Linked DNA regions of Homo sapiens: region 1 is linked to region 2. Evidence: promoter capture Hi-C in human tissues and cell types (Jung and others, 2019). All regions are on one chromosome and are shown on one strand. The core of a region is centred on a gene start or on the middle of the fragment in contact, and the rest is flanking DNA. Distances in the headings are between cores, read along the strand shown.

The links. The method cuts DNA at HindIII sites, captures the fragments that hold promoters and counts their contacts. A contact is called where the count stands out against the background at its distance.
Region 1: a fragment that was not itself captured here is called in contact with the fragment with the promoter of FAR2 in region 2 in 1 of the 25 tissues and cell types used here (dorsolateral prefrontal cortex).

What each region holds. Positions count from the first base shown.
Region 1 is chr12:28,126,310-28,129,818 of GRCh38, forward strand. LOC105369710 (a long non-coding RNA gene) reads right to left here and starts at 3,265. Exons shown (of 3, transcript XR_931461.3): 1 at 3,164-3,265. The region is part of intron 1 of LOC107984462 (a long non-coding RNA gene); the gene reads left to right. The HindIII fragment of the contact is 4,493 bases long and covers 1-3,509 here.
Region 2 is chr12:29,147,609-29,151,300 of GRCh38, forward strand. It overlaps FAR2 (fatty acyl-CoA reductase 2), which reads left to right and starts at 1,670. Exons shown (of 12, transcript NM_001271783.2): 1 at 1,670-1,799. RefSeq lists silencers at 1,518-1,577, 1,888-2,037. The HindIII fragment of the contact is 14,796 bases long and covers 1-3,692 here.

The DNA of each region.
Region 1 (3,509 bases), core at 341-2,840, 1.0 Mb before region 2:
TCCAGCTGGGGCAACAGAGAAAACCCTATCTAAGAAAAAAAGAAGTTATCTTTGTATCTACCGTAACACATAGACACACAACCTTGTATATAGTGGGTGCTCCATAAGTAACTGTTCTTTGAAAAAATGTAAACCCAGTATCATTTCATGTAAAATGATTTCATGCAAACTTTCCTGTTTGCTTCCCAGAAACAAACAAACAAACAAACAAAAAACAGAAAACATTGTATTGAATAGGTCTGCCTCTGTCTGACCTTATTTCAACCCTGAGTACTTTGTCAGCCTTCAACACAGATTTTTCTCCAACTTCAGTGTTTGTTTGCTAATTAATTCTTTCACATTTGGTGTTTCATTTATTTATGCTAATATACATATTCTCTATTCCTCCTAAGAGACCATTATGCAGATAGGATGATTATCTGATTTATATCAATGATCTAAGGACCAATATCTTTTATTTTCCTCCACTTTAATAGCTCTGGAAAAAAATTTAAAAAGTACCCTCCAGATGTAATAAAGGCAAAATTACATATCTATACCTTTTTCCCCTTAATATCTGATTTTTTTCAGAAATGAGCAAGTGGTTTCAAATGTAGAATAACAAAATTATCTTTTTAAAATATAACAGTCTTCATTCTAAAGGACTCTAGAATTCTAGACTCTAAAATGCACACACATCCAGAATTAAAATTCTATGGTTATGAAAAAGAACTCCAGCATATCCCCACCAACTGCATTTTACAGTACTCTTTGTACCAAAGAAACACGAATTATTGAGAATAACAGTTGGAATGGACCCCGCCTATTCTTGCTTTGACAGTAAGAACAATAACAGTAGCACCTTCATTTTTAAGGAAGTATGAAAGAGTTTTTCCATCAATGTCCATTTTGTTTTTCGTCTATAGAAAAACTGTTTCCATGGAGATTACTGCTTACCTTCTCTCTACTAGTATTTGGCTGAGGTGATTGGCAAGTGCAACGTGTGCTAACAAAAGACATGGAGGTTCAAAGACCTGCCATGTGCATAAAACCCCCTGAAACCTAAGAAGGTAAGGATGGTTGAGTCAGTCAACCATCCTTATCTTCTTAATTAGCTACCCCCTAAAAACAGAACTTTAATAGTTACACACCCGTTTGCCAGCAAGCTGATCTGGTAAAAGCCAATGAGACAGAAAAGGCATTCAGAAGGGGATACACCCATGTCTACGTCCCTCCTCACTCTCTGACTCACTGCTACCTTGGGTATGCCATTAACAATTCTGGGCATCAGGTTGTTCAAATGAAACTTCTAACCAAGGTATTTGCTGACCACCTACCTCACAGAAGTATTGCGAGTCTCAGCTATTAAGCTATTATAAAGCAATCTAAGCACATGAAGTGCTACATAAGCACTAATGGTACTGAGTCAGTGAGGAAAGGGAGCACGCTGTACATTGAATCACCTGCATTGTTTCCTTCTTTCAGTCCTTTGTGGTAATTTCCTAAACAACAAAAAATGTGCCCTTCTAGGATGACTGGGTCTAAGCTTGCTCCTGGAAGGTAACTAAGATGATTGAATTGAAAAGTCACAAAGCTATGGGCCATATTATATTTTCAATTTGGGAAAATAGGTATTTTTGAATTAATAAACTTCATTATTATTATTATTTTTATTATTGAGACAGGGTCTCACTCTGTTGCTCAGGTTGGAATGCAATGGTGTGATTGCCACTGGGACTCCAGGTGTGTACCTGCACACCCTTGCTTATTTTTAAACTGTTTGTAGAGACAGGTCACACTGTATTGCATTGGCTTATCTCAAACTCTTGGGCTCAATCGATCCTCCTGCCTCAGCCTCACAAAGTGCTGGAATTACAGGTGTGAGCCACCATACTCAGCCAATAGACTTTTCAAAGAGTAGCTTTAGGTTTACAGAAAAATCCATCAGGAAGTACAAAAAGTTCTTGTACACACACCCTCCACCCCCACTACTCCCCAAACACAGTTTCCCCTATCATCTTGTATTAGTGTGGTACATTTGTTACAATTGATGGTGTTTAGGACGGGCAACCCCAAAATACAGCATGTTGGCATTTGAGAAAACAGCAGAAGCAGGAAGGTCACTTTTACCCTCCCCTCATCTCTCCCGCCGGAAGCAGGTCAGAAAATCTAGGAAAGTCACTCTCTGACTTTCTCCCGCTCTTCTACCTTCTACCCTGAAGCAGGTCATAAGACCTTCAGGCGAAGGGTGCTCTCTCTAATACCAGAAGAAAAGAACATCCTTATCTCTGATGACCCAGGGATGCAGAGAAAAATATGAACAAACAGACCTTGCTAAGTTCCCCCCAGTTTATTACCATTAGAGCATACCTCCTTTGTCCAATCATACTTTTCCACAACCATCCACCTTGTCTCAAACCTAAGCATAAAAATGCACATTTGCCTGTTCTTTTGGGTCTTCATTTCTGAAGTCTCTTTTATGTAAAACTTAAATAAATATGTATGCTTTTTTCTTGTTAATCTGTCTTTTGTTATAGGTGTCTCAGCCATGAAAAGACTAGAATAAAAATGCTTATTATCCTAATTATCCAGAAAAGAAACAACAAACAGATAGAAATTTATGATGAAAGAATATTCTTCTGGGGAGCAAAAATTATTTCCAGCAAATAAGACAGGAAAAGCCCATAAAACTCTTGTCTGCAAGTGGTGGATGAAAGCCTGAGGTCAAACTGGGGGTGGAAATTTGAAAGACTGGGTCAGAGAAAAAGAAATTTTAAATGAACACTAGAGGAGGGGAATTTTGACAGTAATTAGTATCTTTCAAAAACAAGAGCTTGCAAATGTTTGAACTGTAATTCCATGAAGTCAAAAGGAATCTTTGAGAAAAGAAATGTTCAACCAGCATACTGACTTTCTCATTTGATTAACATTTTTGTTGTACAGAATCACCTAAATCTGCCCAGGGAAAGCCCTTTACATATTTCCCTCCATTAATTATCAGCTTGTGATTTATTGTAACTACCAGTGAAATATGCAGCATTGTGAATGAATAAAAAAGCATTTTTTGCGAGAGTTCTCATTTCTTAATGGGCCCCAGCAAGGAGCTTGCTTTTTTTAAAATAAAAAACAAACTTGAAGGCCCTAATAATGAGATCACATAATAGAAAATAAATATATAAAATACCAGGCTTCACTGAATCTTAAGAAGTCATCAAGTCAGGTCGGGCATGATGGCGTGCACTTATAATCCCAGCACTTTGGAAAGTTGAGGCAGGAGCAGGAGCATTGCCTGAGGCCAGGAGTTCAAGAATGCAGTGAGCTATAATCAAGATTGTCTCCATCTAAAAAAGAGGAAGAAGAAGAAGAAAGAAGAAGAAGAAGTCATCGACTATAAAAAGCTTGCTATCTTATTTATCACTAAAGAGAAAAGTTTTCCAGTTAAAATTTTAAAGAGTATCTTAATTTAGAAAAATTTAAAATATGAAAAAATGTGCTTAGAACTGATGAAATACAGTTTATGGTATAATCTG
Region 2 (3,692 bases), core at 420-2,919:
TTATGGATTATCTCCTTTGAATACATTGTAAGACATGGGAATCTAGGTCCAGAACAAGAAAAAATTTCGTTACTGAACACCTTGGGAATGTGTTGCTAAATTGCTTTCCAACAAAAGCGTGATTACAATTTACCTTCCATCTGCTATCTGTTAAGTGATTTCTATACGTTTTCACCAGCATTTGACATTATCATTTGAAGTGCTGTCACACACATTTTGAAGATACATTCAAATTTATTCTTGAGGAGGGGAGGGGTAACGAAAAATACTATAAATTTGGTTGTAACTTTTTTTCTGTCTCTTGCATTCAGGCGGTCACCAGAGGAAATTAGTCAGTGCCTTTAGGCTACACTTAGCTTAACACATTTCATTAAAGAGCCCAGTAGTAGAGAATTCAAGATGGGTGTTATTATTTTAATTTCATGAAATCACTCCTTAATTCTAACTTTCAAAAGTCAAATTTTATTTCTTTAATTGCATGTGGATTGTTATAATGAGGAGAATCAGAACAGCTTATAGGACAATATTTCTTTTCTATTTTTCTTAACACACCATATTTATTTGGAAATTTACCTCCTACATTGTCCAGGGAATTAGGATGGGCGTTGGCCGTTTTTCAGCACTTCCTGGTTGAGGCCAAGGGCTCCACTCACGTGCCTGTCCATCCCTCTACAAGGCTTCCCTGGCAGCTTGTTTTTCCGTTTAAAATTTAACAATGACCAAATCCCAAAAAAGCTACCAGGCTAAGAAATGAAACATCTTTTTTTCTTTTAAGTCCGGAGAAGTGCTGCTGAGCACAGCTGGCTCACTGCTGTTTCTGCGGCCCCCATCTCTGATCCTTTCTAGTCTCCTACCCACCCCCACCCCACCATAGGCAGGCAGAGCCGGATTTCTGCCCTTCAAACCCCGAGTGTGAGGAAGCCTCACCTGAAGTCCTCGCATCACCCTCCACCCTCACGCCCTTGGGTTTTAAAAAGCCACTGCGTTCGTGGGTCACTGCAGGGCGCCTCCGCAATGTCTTTAGCAGATACAAGAGCATCCCTCCCACGGGATGTGCAGTGTAGTCAAGCTGAGTAAACTGGGATTTTTGGCTGCCTTTTCTGCTAGGGTGGGTGGGGAAAGGTATGTCCCCCAAGCGTTCAGTTCAGACTAGAACCTTTGAATCTCTCTCCTGTCTCGGTCTCTCCCTCCACCCCCCTACCCCGCCACCTTTCACGGTGTGGGAGTTCTCCTTTCCCACACCAGAGAGGGGCGCCTTTCTAGCTTCCTTGTCCCCTCGCCCACTGATTAAAAAATGGAGAAAAAAACCAACCCCAAAACCCAAAACAAAACAAAACAAAAGCCCCAAACAAACAAACAAACCAAACCCACCGAAACCAAAACCAACTCCCCTCCCCCAAACCACACAAATGCGGGAGTCATAGCCAGTGGATCCGCTGGTGCTGAACGAATGGAAGCGCGGGGCGGGCCTGCGCGCGCGGCCGCCCTGCCCACGATGCTGTCGCCCCCGCGACCTGTAGGGCCTTCGCTGGCCCCTCACCCTCCTCCCGCCCCGGGCTGAGGCTGCCGCCGGTTTCGCGCCCAGTGCCGAGGCAGCGGCGGAGCCGGGGAAGGTCGGAGGGAGGGTGGTTTCCTCCCGCCCCACACCCAGTCTCCGAGCCGGATATATAGAGTGTCACGTTTGGGAGCCGAAAGACTGGAGCCGTTTCCTTGTGGCTGGAGCGCTTCCCGTAGCCTCGGGGAAGGAGCAGGATTTAGAGGACCACTAGTTGGACCCCATCCTCGTGCTGGAGGAACAGGTATTCCAGGGTCCCCAGCCCTGGCGCTCGCAGAGCCCACGCGCTCCAAAAGCAGAGACCGGACTGGGGGTGGCCCAGGAGGGAGGGCTCGGCTGGGTTCGCAGGGCGGGGCGGTTCCCGGCGGGACCTCGAGGAGGGTGGGTGTGAGGCCGGGTGGGAGGAGAGAAGCATTTGCGGAGGCTCTGCCCCCTGAAGCTGCCCCCGGCTGCACCCCAATCGTCACCGGCCGTTTACGCGCGGTTGGCGTCGGCGGAGCCCGCCAAGGTGGGGCGCGCGGGGGTTGCAAAGGGCAGAAAGCCGGGAAGGACCCAGCAAGGTTAATGTGGGGGGCCGCGCCTTGGGGACTGGGGACCCGGGAAGAGAGGCGCGGGGCCGAGTCCCACCCAGGCCTCCTGGGCCCTTGGGGCTATTCCTGGAGAGAGCGCGAAAATGCCGGGGCCACGTGTGAAACGGCAGCGGTCCTAGGTCCCCTCCCGGTGCCTGGGACCGCCAGGGCGCCCAGTCCTGGTCCCCGGAGCAGGTCCTCGCCAGCCCCCAGCCCCACCCCAGGCTGCGCACGTCCCTACCCTCCCACCTGGGCCTCGCCGGGGTCGTGGCTGACGCGCGCTGGGGCGACTGGTGAGGCCAGGGCGGGCTTTGCCCCTGTAGGAAGTTTTAGACATCTTCCTGCGGCCTGGGCATCCTGGGGGTGTGCAGGGGAGCAGGTGCCAGCAGACTCCCAACTGGAGTAGATGGCTTGCAGGAAGGCTGCTCAACACTCCTAGCAAGTAGAATTACCCGCGGGGCAGTCTCAGTCTATTAAAACAATTCATGCCCAATCGTATCCTACAAACCAGAGGAAGGCGTCTCACCTGCCAGCGGTGGCACCATTTCTTCCACGGTTGAGTTATGTGGTGTGAGCAACCAAGGTTATCGCTGGATCTGCAAGAGTTTGGCCACTCGTTGAATCACGTAAAGTGCCCCCATTATGTGATGAGCAAGGACAGAGTAGGGTCAGAAAAGTGACCAGGGAATTCAGGTAGATCGTGCTTTTCTGTTTGCTAGGTTGAGAGAAATTTGACACTGGGCAAATGGAAATTTGAGAATTACCCCGTGGTTTCAATTACCCATCTCTGTATATTCCCATTTATAAGAGCTGGAGATTTGACTGACAGGTGTAGTTAGTCCAAAATTTAGAAAGGGGGGCAAGGGACTAAATAAAAACTTAAGGCAGCCACCTAAACTGCAAGAGCAGGCATTTCCGCAGAAGGGATATTTGTGTGTGAGACTTCTAGGAGATGGGCATGAGGTTTTTACCAGGCCGACGCGTGTGTCAATATTTCATCGGTAGTATTTCTCAGGATCCACGTCTTTACAGTACTCTTTTCCTAATTCTGAGGGCTGCTTCTGCCCCTGCTGTATTAACAAATTCCTCACTTACTCCTATTTCTAACATTGGGCTATAATTATCTATAAAAGAGATGTAAATCACCATGAGTTGGTAAATCATACAGCTATTAGAGAAATTAAAGTAAATGAAAATATGCTTTCCTTAAAGGAAGCTAAAATGTGACATCCAGTTACAGAGGAAGAGGGAGAGGTTGAAAATAAATAAAATGGCTTATATTAGGGTATCACTTTGGGGTTTATAAAGCATATGATCATCTTGACCATCTCACCATCTGCTTTCCTATCTCCTGAGGAAGAAGCATTCTTGAGTGCATTTGTTTCTGGCAACGTCTCATCAGTGTTAAGAATTCCTTGATTTTGCATTAATTCCCATGCACTCATGAAAACTTACTTATTCACAAATATAGCCTTGTGAAGGATCATGCACAGTGACCACCAGCATGCTTGTCCCTACCAATATATTCTGACATTGTAGGCTCTGTTGGAACATGTATTACCTTTGAA